4 separate regions of the Homo sapiens genome follow, and all the other regions are linked to region 3. The links are contacts of gene promoters, found by promoter capture Hi-C in human tissues and cell types (Jung and others, 2019). All regions are on one chromosome and are shown on one strand. Each heading gives the region's core, a stretch centred on a gene start or on the middle of the fragment in contact. The rest is flanking DNA. Distances are from core to core; before and after follow the strand shown. Region 1 has its middle 2.6 kb from the start of PKP4-AS1. Region 2 has its middle 21 kb from the start of PKP4-AS1. Region 3 holds the start of ACVR1C (activin A receptor type 1C). Region 4 overlaps PKP4-AS1 (PKP4 antisense RNA 1).

The links. The method cuts DNA at HindIII sites, captures the fragments that hold promoters and counts their contacts. A contact is called where the count stands out against the background at its distance.
Region 1: a contact is called between a fragment that was not itself captured here and the fragment with the promoter of ACVR1C in region 3, in 1 of the 25 tissues and cell types used here (spleen).
Region 2: a contact is called between a fragment that was not itself captured here and the fragment with the promoter of ACVR1C in region 3, in 1 of the 25 tissues and cell types used here (dorsolateral prefrontal cortex).
Region 4: a contact is called between a fragment that was not itself captured here and the fragment with the promoter of ACVR1C in region 3, in 1 of the 25 tissues and cell types used here (lymphoblastoid cells).

The regions. Positions count from the first base shown.
Region 1 is chr2:158,736,167-158,738,952 of GRCh38, forward strand. No RefSeq gene overlaps it. Among named protein-coding and RNA genes, the nearest start is that of PKP4-AS1, 2.6 kb to the left of the region's middle. The HindIII fragment of the contact is 3,985 bases long and covers 1-2,786 here.
Region 2 is chr2:158,754,230-158,756,980 of GRCh38, forward strand. No RefSeq gene overlaps it. Among named protein-coding and RNA genes, the nearest start is that of PKP4-AS1, 21 kb to the left of the region's middle. The HindIII fragment of the contact is 3,473 bases long and covers 1-2,751 here.
Region 3 is chr2:157,627,607-157,630,377 of GRCh38, forward strand. It overlaps ACVR1C (activin A receptor type 1C), which reads right to left and starts at 1,258. Exons shown (of 9, transcript NM_145259.3): 1 at 966-1,258. The coding sequence starts at 1,038. RefSeq lists a silencer at 973-1,202. The HindIII fragment of the contact is 14,203 bases long and covers 1-2,548 here.
Region 4 is chr2:158,708,809-158,711,508 of GRCh38, forward strand. The region is part of intron 1 of PKP4-AS1 (PKP4 antisense RNA 1); the gene reads right to left. Among named protein-coding and RNA genes, the nearest start is that of PKP4-AS1, 25 kb to the right of the region's middle. The HindIII fragment of the contact is 3,816 bases long and covers 1-2,700 here.

The DNA of each region.
Region 1 (2,786 bases), core at 183-2,682, 1.1 Mb after region 3:
TCTGAACGCCTTTTCGATTGAACTTCTCAACCTCCTGTCTTTTCCTCCTCTGACCTGACCTCTGTAACTTTAATAAGTCAGTTTTTCTTGGGCCTTTCAACTTGACCTTCTGTGAATTCTGAAGCCTCCTTTTAACCTAATGGCCAATTCAGTTCACAAGTGCTAAACCTGTTCCTTCTGGAGTCACTGTCTTTCCAAATGGCTCTACCATCTGGCTGCCCAACTGCTCAAGTCAAATGTGTCTGAGGTCATCCTAGATTCCTTGGACACATTACACTGCATTTCTAACCAACTATCAAAGCATGTCTATTGTGCCTCTTAAATATTTTTTGAATCCTTATTCATCTCTCCATCCACATTTGCAACTTCCATCCAGGGCCCCATTACATTTTGCCTCCATTGTCACAGCCTCCTAACTAGCCTCTTTATCCCCAGCCTTGCTTCCCTCTAGACCACTCCCCCACAACATCTGGGTGATATCACAAAGTTATTACCTTTGAGATAAAGTCTACACTCCTTCCTAAGGTTTTCAAAGCCGATATGAGCCAGCATCTGCTTAAATAATGCCCACTCTATCCTTCTCCCATGACTCCACCACACACCTGGTCCATGATGCTTCAGAAACATTGACTGCTTCCCTCTTTGTTCTACCTTAAACACGCTTCTCGTTTCTTCTGGTGAATGCCTGCTCATTTTGCAGGTCTCAGATGGATCCCCGCTTTCCTGGAGAAGTCTTTCCTGACTCCCCAGAGCTGGATCAGATGCCTCTCTTTGTGCTCCCCTAATACGCTGTATCTGCCCTATTGCAGCACACATCACATTGAATTGCACTGGCCTCTTTTCTTGGCTGTGTCTTCTCCAAACTGGAACACCAGGGCCACATCTGTTTTGCTCGACATAATGTCTCCAGCATCTAGCAACACTAACGAAAACATCTGTTGAATGAATGGTGAATGATTGAAGCCCTTCATACCACAACATGCAGTCTTGCGGCACAGACAGGGGTCTTTTCTGTATTGTGCTCTCAGTTGCAACACAGAACATCAACAGGTACTGGGCAGTGTCTTCTCTATAGAGCAAAGGGGCCCAGTGATAAGGGGATGACTTCCTCCTGCCCTATAGACCAGTCTCCCAAACTTTCTCGACTGCATAGCCTTTCCTAGTTCTTTTTTTCCCTCTTCCTGGCTTCCTCCAGCTTTGCAACCTTCAAGTCAAATTAGCCAAGTTGAATTTTATATGAGCTTAGTTTTATTTTTCACAGTGGAAGCTCCTCATCTCTTCATCAATAATAGACATCACTGTAACCCAAAGCTCTGTGGCTTTTCCAATAGAATCATGTTAATAAATATCTGGTGTTAGTTTGCTGTTGATAGCAACATTTCCAACTCTTTAGTGTTGGCCAAAAAAAAAAAAAAAAAAGAAAAAGAAAAAAAAGAAAAAGAAAGGAGTTGGCAAAAGCAGAGAAGAGCAGGCATGGTTTCTAGCCTTTCTCTCAAAATGTGAACCCTTAGTGCCCCTGAACTAGCTGGATGCCATTCTGGGGATAGAGCAGGTTTTACAGAAGCTTGTGTATTTATAATTTAGGGGTTTTCTTTAAGAAAAAGAGTATAAAACTATAGATATATGGCTTGCAGTTCTTGAAAGTTGCTTGTGCAAGTGCAGTGGGGGCCCTTGAAAACCATCCTTCATTCAATTAATTTGCTTTCCATCTCTATCATAATTTTTATAACTGGAGAAACTGAATCCTAGAGTAATGGAGCTGAGCATGAGTCAGCTTGAGAAGCTCTGGTTGCCCAGCCCTCCCTGCTGCAGGACCTGCAGTTCGTCGTGAAGCTACATGGACTCGAAACACTCACAAAATCCCCAGCTCCCGGTTTCATTCACAGGCCATGCCAGAAGGGTAAAAACAGAAAGGTAAAAAATAAATATTTTTCAATGAACTCAGCCTCTGTGTGGGCAATAAGCTGCTTGGTTTGGTAGGAAGAACGCTGGGCTGGGAGTTGACAGGGGCAGTTGTTGTTCATTCTATTAAGCACTTAGGAAAATAGACGTGCTGATGCTGATTTTGAAACAGATTAATATTGAGCCAGATAACAAGTTTCTACTCCACATTAATAGGAAAAAAATGGTGGATTCTGAGCTCAGTGGAGCTAAGAATTTAAAGAGGTAACCAGTTTTGTAAGAACAGGGAAGAAAAAGCCACTGCACCGCTTAATCACTGTGACCGCCACAGCCCTTTGGGAGCAGAAGGTCACTTCTCAGAACTCCTCCCAATCACTGTGACCACCACAGCCCTTCGGGAGCAGAAGGCCACTTCTCAGAACTCCTCCCAATCACTGTGACCACTGCAGCCATGCAGGGGCAGAAGGCCACTTCTCAGAACCCCTCCCAATCACTGTGATCACCACAGCTCTGTGGGAGTAGAAGGTCACTTCTCAGAACCCCTCCCAATCACTGTGACCACTGCAGCCCTGCGGGAGCAGAAGGCCACTTCTCAGAACCCCACTTCTCAGAACCCCCTCCCAGCCTCGAAGTCAAATCTGATGCCATCCCAAGGTCTTATACCTGGATTGCCTCTTCATGCCTTACCTTTTTGAAGGCATCTTTGAGACATCTTGATCAGTCTGTGCCTGTTTGTGACTTCAGTTTTGCCTCTAGACTCTCTTTCACGGATCAGCCTTGCCCAACCCGGGCCCCTGAGTCCATTCTGCAAGATCCCACTTGTTCAGGATAGAGGTTGAGACCTTCATTTAAGGAAAGTCCTACCGATGATAAGACTCCAGTTT
Region 2 (2,751 bases), core at 118-2,617, 1.1 Mb after region 3:
ACCAGATGGTCATTTCCACAGAAAACAGCAGGAGGAACCGCTACAGAGTATGGGAGACAAGAAGAGAATGCCTCCTAACACCTACATAATAAGCTGTAATGGTGGAAAGCCATTTGCTTTTGAATTTTATTGAAAATGCCAAATACAGGTCGTGAATATTGAAATGGACGTCTGAGCGGTGCACAAATCCTCGCAGGTCTTACTGAAGCTTCCCAGGATTAGCTTCCCAGCACAGAGCTCCTAAGGCTTGATTGGGTTTGCAAAGCAAGGATGCTGAGCTGGAGAAAATCAACTAGCCAGAAGTCATCTTGGGAAGGGAAAGTTATTTCTGATGGGAAAATATTTGATAAGAAGCTGATGCCTGTGTGGACAGAATGGTCTAGGGTTTGTTTTTGTTTGGTTGGTTTTTTTGTTTTGTTTTGTTTCTTTTTTGTTTTTGAAATGGAGTCTCGCTCTGTTGCCCAGGCTGGAGTGCAGTGGTGCAATCTCGGTTCACTGCAACCTCCACTTCCCAGGTTCAAGCCATTCTCCTGCCTCAGCCTCCCGAATAGCTGGGATTACAGGCGCCTGCCACCAGGCCCGACTAATTTTTGTATTTTTAGTAGAGAGGTGATCCACCCGCCTCAGCCTCCCAAAGTGCTGGGATTATAGGTGTGAGCCACTGTGCCTGGCCTGTTCTATTTTATTATTATTGTTATTCATCTCTTATTGTGCCTAGTTTATACATTAAACTTTATCGTAGGTACATATATATAGCAAAAGACATAATATATATATGGTTCAGGCATCCACTGGGGGTCTTGGAATGTATCACCCACAGATAAAGGGAAACTATTGTAACTTCAGTTGAGAAAAGCTCATAGTCAAATGCTTCTCTCTGACTTAACGTACTGCCCATCTATTGGTACTAGAAAAGTCAATGTTATAACAGCCCTAAAACTGCCAACACATGTGAAAAATATTTAGCTTTTTGTCTAACGATGGGACCCAACTGACCAAATAAAACCCAAATAAAGGACCTGTAACTGCTCATATCTTTCATGTGTGCCTGCAAGCAAATTTTATATTCCTTCCCACTGAGATTTCTTTCTTTCAAAATATTCCAGGTATGTGGCTTCAAAGCATGTGGCATCTGACATGTGGACACATTGAGAGTAGGATGAGATTGTATTTACCTTTGCCTTGCTGGAGCTTAGCACCTTTGTGGTGTCTTTTGATAAATGGGAAGTGACAAATGTTCTCACGTGGGCAGCAGGAAGGATTCATATGCTCCTCCAATTTTACAGCAACAGACAACAAATGAAAAGGAAGGGCTTAGTCATGCAGGGGCACACTCTCACCTCATCACTAGATGACAGTGCAGCACCCCAGACTCACAGCTTGCCCATAAGTCTTGCATTTAGTGCATGAGGATTCCATTCAGATGCCACCGAATGCCATTTCCATGATCTGGACTGACTTTTCTTTTTTCAGGCACAATAAAGTAAAGACAATTTGGAGTCATTTGCCTTGTTTCTTCAATAAAAGAAAGACTTGGATTTACACAGCCTCTTTTCTCCAAAGAGCTCAGCATGCTTGCCCATCTGGTGTCTCATTTGCCTTCGTTTCATCGCTTTAAAGTCAATAAAGTGTGTTATGCTAGTGTCAGGGCCAGGGAAGGTGAGAGAGTGTGTAGGCTTATTCCTGCTCGCCAAGAGGGGGCGCCCCTGTGCCCTCCTAGTAACACATTCCTAGACACCCATTGCCCACCTACGAGGTGGCCAGTCCACATTCTGCAGGCACCAGAGGCTCTCTGCCCACAAGCAATGCCAGTCTGCAACTGCCAAGTCTAACACAAAGAGACACGTGAACAGAGAATCACAATATAGCATGATAAGAGGTAGGCTGCAGGGATGGGTTAGGTTTGGGTGTGGAGAGAGTCAGAGTTGGGCACAAGAGGAAGTTACTGAAGGGTTTAAAAAGTAAAGTTTCAGTACAAATTGTAGTAAATGAAGTAATTGGAAAAACAGTGTTAACCCCTTTTTAATTAGTTAAATTAATTAAATCAGACTTTCTGCTCACCAAAATGTATCCTATGTGTTTTCTAAGCTTGATTGACAAGTTTGGCTGAAAGGACCAAACTACTTTTTGCTTAATAATTACAAAATAGGTAGAAAAAATGCACCCCCTCCAAAAAAGTAAAGCTTCAATAACAAGGCTGTGGAGGAGTAGCAACCCTCATACATTGCCAGTGTGAGTGAAAAATGACTCAGATGCTATGGAAAGCAGTTTGACGTTTCCTCAAAAAGTTAAACACAGAATTACCGCATGACCCAGCATGCATACCCAAAATAATTGAAAACCGGTGCTCAGACAAATCCTTGTACACAAACATTCATAGCGACATTATTCACAAGAGTCAAAAGGTAGAAACAGCTGAAATGTCCGTCAACGAATGAAGACGTAAACAAATTGTGGCTACACACATACAATGGAATAATATGCAGCCGTAAAAAGAACTGAAGTACTGATACACGCTATAACTTGCATGAACCTGTAGACTGTTATGCTAAGTGGGAGATGCTAGACTCAAAAGGTCACGTATTGTATAACCCCGTGTATATGAATTATCCAGGTTATGCAAATCCATAGAGACAGAATGTGGATTGGTGGTTGCCAGGGGCTGGGGAAAGTGTTGAATGGTGGGGGGTGACTGCTTAATGAGTGTGGGGTTCTGTTTTGGGATGATGGGATTGTTTTGGAACTAAACAG
Region 3 (2,771 bases), core at 8-2,507:
GATTGTCATCTGGGAAAACAAAATGCATCAAAATCAGCTTCGGACAAAACACAGCTCTATGGGAAAACACCAGATTTTTATGTGCAAATGTCTTCAATGTCTGATAGAAATTTTTAAAGAATGAGTTAGCAAAGAATCTGCTCCTCCTCTGCATAATCCAGGACAATGTAATGAAAATAGTTTTCGAGGTAAAGGGCTTTTAGTCACAGCATATTATGATTTTACCAAAGATGCATTTGCCCCACTTTCTAGTAAACATTATAAAGAAACGTCTGGCTTCTAGATTGGGTAGAGGGCTCTATTTAGCCTATCAAGGCACAGACCTGTTATAAACTCTGGGGCGCTTGCCAGAATTTTTTTCCCCAGGAACTCTGAGTAAAGATCGTACCTCGAAAGCAATGTGCGTTGCAAACCACACAGATTTAAGCTCCCACTCTCGCCTCCATAGCTTGGCATCTGCGGCTTTTGGGGTATTCCCCGCCTCCTAAAACTCAGACTAAATCACCACCTCCCACCACCACCATGCCACCATCCTTGAGCAGCTCTCAGGGGCTTAGCACAGAGCGCGTCCGACGCATACCTGCAGCCCTCCAGGTCCCTGCAGGGTGAACCCAGCTCCCAGCCATGCGCGCACCCACAAACGCTCTCCTATTTTCTCCGCTGCAAACTGCCCACAAATTAGTCACCCACCTCACCCCTACTACTTATTCCCCCACGTCCCTGCTGCCTTTTCCCTCTTCCGGGCGGCTTCGTCCCCAACACACCTGTCTACCCCTACGGCTGCCAGACGTCAGGTGCCCACGCTGCACCCTATCCCGCGCCCCCTCAATCCGACTGGCGCTTCCCTGTCCGCCCCGAAGGTCAGTTTGCTCGGAGCACCCCCTGTCCCCCACCCCCGTGCTCACCCGCAGACCTCCTCCCAGCTCCCACCCTCGCGGGCGTCGGGAGAGAAACCAGCACCGTACCTGGCGAGAGCTCGGCGGCCGCTGCGAGCAGCAGGAGAGCCTGGCGGAGCGCTGAGCAGAGCGCCCGGGTCATCGCCACCAGGCGGCCGCGCCGGGGCTGCGAGGCCCCAGAGCAGAGCGAGGCAGCCGGGGCAGCACGGCCCGCTTTGAAGTTCCCGGGCCGCGGGAGGGGAGCGCGGCACCGACACCCTTTTGAAGTGCGCGGTTGGCTCTAGTCAGTGTGGGCGCCCCCCTCCCCGGCCGCCCCCATCCCACGCCCCCTGCGGCTGGCGGTGCGCGGCGCTCCTGCCACTGGCCCCGCAGCCGGGCGGGGAGCGGGTGGTGGGGCGGGCGGCAGAGCCCGCCCCTGCCGCGCCTCCGCCCCCTGCGCCCTCTCGCAGCCGCCCGGGCCTGCTGCTGCAGGGCAGGCAGGCAAAGGCGGCCCTGTGCCCGGCAGTGAGATCGCCCAGAGCTGGGGCGAAGAAAGAGGGGGCGTGGGGAAGCAGTGCGGAGCCTCCGGGACTAGATACTCAGGAATGGGGCTTCTCACGGGAGGAAAAGCCCCACTGAGACTTTAGGGAAACTTCAACTACGCGGCGATTGCGCCCAGGTGATCCGCTCTATAACCTCCCGCAGAAGAGCCAGCCTCCTAGCTCTCCTGACGTTTGTTGTCCAGGGTCCTTAAGTCCAACCAGGTTGCGCTGTGAGAGCCCCGCGGGCTTCCTACTGGCTTGTCCCACCCCTGCGTCCTGGCCATTTGTGCCTCTGGGGAAGGGCGCCCTCTCTGTTCATCCCTGGAAATGACCAGTTGTCCGACTGCCTTCTGGACCTATAAGCTTTGGTTTAACAAACTTCATCTCTTCTTGGGTGCCTTTTGGGAACCCTTCCCTCTATGAATGGCGACCAAAGCTGGACCACCTGCGCCAGGTGATGTGGCCATCTACAATGTGTGACCCACGTCTGGTGGTAAAAGACCTCACCTATGGAAGATAATTTCGGCAGCTACAACTTCAGCAATTGAAGAACTAAGGGAACATACACACACACACACACACACACACACACACACACACACACACACGGATTAAGGGAAGGGGAAGAATTGTTTAAAGTAGTATATGAAAAACTTGTTTGAGTATTGTTTAATCCCTAGAGGCTAACTGTCAAACGGGTGCCTGAAAATATAAGGCCTGGATTGTGCCTGAAAATATAAGGACAACGGCAACATTACCAATTTATAGAAATTAAATTCAATTCACCTATGGAGCCTGAACATTAAAGTGAATGGGATTATTTCAATCTGAACAACGCGAAAAAGCAAGAATACAATACTGGTGTTATTACTACTGTTGGGGGTTCCTTGAAAAGTGATAGCGTCATAAAAATTGCTTTAGAGTAAAACATTTCTTGCTTCTTCACCTAGCTCAGGACTAAATTATATGCTAGGTGTTCTAAGTTCTATGAAAGACCTATGGTGAAATGTTGTATGTAATTGACTTTATTATCAAAGGATCACAGTATGGGAGATGAGATGGTTGTTGGACTTTGAGATGTGGGTGGCATCCTGAGGATCTTTTCTGCCACCATCTTATATTCCTAAGCACAAAAAAACTTTGTTCTTGTTTTATCCTGGATCCAAACAAACAAAAAACTGGAGATGTGGGACAAATCTGAGCCCTTTCAGACACCCACAAAACAGATGCTTTTTTAAAAAGGCAAGAAACTGCTAGGACACATTATATTTTGTCTGGTTTGGCTTGCTAATTATTTGATAACTGCACCTTAAATTGTGATCTGCCAATAGATCATGATACCGGGAGCCTAAAT
Region 4 (2,700 bases), core at 147-2,646, 1.1 Mb after region 3:
CCCAAGTAGCTGGGGCTACAGTGACATGCTACCATTTCCGGCTAATTTTTTTTTTTTTTTTTTTTTTGTAGAGATGGGGTTTCACCAGGCTGGTCTCAAACTCTTAAGCTCAAGGGATCTTCCTTCCTCGGCCTCCCAAAGTGCTGGGATTACAGGCATGCGCCACCACACCCAGCCCACATATAGGTTTTTGTGTGAACATAGGTCTTCATTCCTCTGTGATAAATGACCAAGGGTGCAATTGCTAGGTTATATGGTAATTGCATGTTTCTTTTTTTTTCTAAAGAAACTTTCAAACTGCTTTCCACAATGATTATGCCATTTTACATTCCCACCAGCAATCTAGAAGTGATCAGTTCCTCCACATCCTCTCTAACCTGTAATGTTGTCACTATTTTTTATGTTAGCCATTCTTATAAGGGTGTATCTCACTGTGCTTTGATATCAGGGTAATACTAGCTTCATATAATGAATTAGTAAATATTTCCTTTTCTTCTACTTTCTGGAAGAGATAGTGTAGAACTGGTGTTAATTATTCTTTAAACATTTGGTAGAATTCTCCATTGAAACCATCTGGCCTGGAGATTTTTTTTCTGAGAGTTTTTAAATTAGAAATTAAATTTCCTAATTTTCTTTTCTTTTCTTTTCTTTTGGAAACAGAGTCTCACTCTATCCCCCAAGCTGGAGTGCAGCGGCAGGATCTCAGCTCATTGCAACCTCTGCCTCCCTGGTTCAAGCGATTCTCATGCCTCAGCCTCCCAAGTAGCTGGGATTACAGGCACGTGCTACCACACCCCACTAATTTTGTATTTTTAGTAGAGATGGGGTTTTGCCATGTTGGCCTGGCTGGTCTCGAACCCTTGACCCCAGGTGATCCGCCTCGGCCTCCCAAAGTGCCAGAATTACAAGCATGAGCCACTGTGCCTGGCCTAAATTTCCTAATTATTATAGGGTCTACTCAAATTATATATTTCATGTTGGGTGAGTTGCGGTAATTTGTGTTTTTCTGAGGGAGTGGTTCATTCAGCCTAAGGTGTCAAACTATGTATATAGACTTGTTCATAACAGTCTATTATTATCCTTTTGATAACTGCAGGGTCTGTAGTGATAGCCCCTCTTTCATTGCTGATATTGACAGTTTGTGTTTTCTCTCTGTTTTTGTCAGTTTTACTCTTAAAATTGACTATTTTATTGACCTTTTCAAAAAAAATAAAACCTCTGTTTCATCAATTTTCTCTATTGTGTTTCTATTTTCAATTTCATAGATTTCAGATATTACCTTTATTATTTCCTTCATTCTGTTTGCTTTGGGTTTATTTTGAGCTCTTCTAAGTTCTTGAGTTGGAAGCTTCTGTTATTGATTTCAGACTTTCCTTCTTTTCTAATGTAAGCATTTTGTTCTATACATTCCCTTCTTGGCACTGTTTTAGCAGTGCCCCACAAATGCCAAGATGTTGTATTTTCATTTTATTTACTTCAGGGTAGTTTTTATTTTCCTTGAGCCCTCCTCTTTGACCCATGGATTATTTTGAAGTGTGCTGTTTAGTTTCCAAGTGCTTGGAGATTTTCCATTTATCTTTCTGTTATTGATTTCTAGTTTGATTTCACTGGGTCAGAGAACATACTCTGTATGTTTTCAATTCTTTTAAATTTCTTAAGGTCTGTTTTATGGTACAGGATATGGTCTATCTTGGTATAACGTTCTGTGGGCCCTTGAAAACAACATGTATTCTATTGTTACTGAATGGAGTTTTCTTTTCTTTTCTTTTTTTTTTTTTTTTTTTTTTTTTTTTGAGATAGAGTCTTGCTCTGTTGCCCAGGCTGGAATGCAGTGGCACAATCTCAGCTCACTGTAACCTCCACCTCCTGGGTTCAAGCGATTCTCCTGCCTCAGCCTCACAAGTAGCTGGGATTACAGACGCCCGCCACTATACCTGACTAATTTTTTTTTTTTTTTTTAGTAGATACAGGGCTTCACCATGTTGGTCAGGCTGATCTCAAACCCCTGACCTCAAGTGATCTGCCTTGGCATCCCAAAGTGCTGGTATTACAGGTATGAGCCACTGCGCCTGGCCTTGAATGGAGTTTTCTATAAATGTTGATAAGATTCTGTTGATTAATATTTGCTGAGTTCTTCTATCCTTGCTGATTTTCTGTTTAGCTTTTCATCAATTATTTATTTATTTATTCGAGACAGGGATTTGCTCTGTCGCACAGGCTGGAGTGCAGTGGCACGATCTCAGCTTACTGCAGCCTCTTCCTCCCAGGTTCAAGTAATCTCCCAGCTCAGCCTCTTGAGTAGCTAAGACTATAGGCGTGCGCCACCACACCTGGCTAATTTGTGTTTTTTGTTGTTGTTGTTTCTTTTTTTTTGGTAGAGATGGGGTTTTGGCATGTTGTGCAGGTTGGTCTCAAAGTTCTGGGATCAAGCAATCTGCATGCCTTGGCCTCACAAACTGCTGGGATTACAGGCATGAGCCACCGTGCCTGGTCTACATCAATTTTTGAGAGAGGCGTGTTGTGCTTTCTAAATACAGTTGTGGATTTTCCTATTTCTCCTGTCTATTCTGTGAGTTTTTGCTATCCATATTTGGAGCTCTGTTGTTTGGTGCCTATGCAGTTAGAGTTGCCACTTTTTTCTTGGCAATTGACCCTTTATCATGACATAACATCCTCCTCTGTCTCTGGTAATTTTCTTTC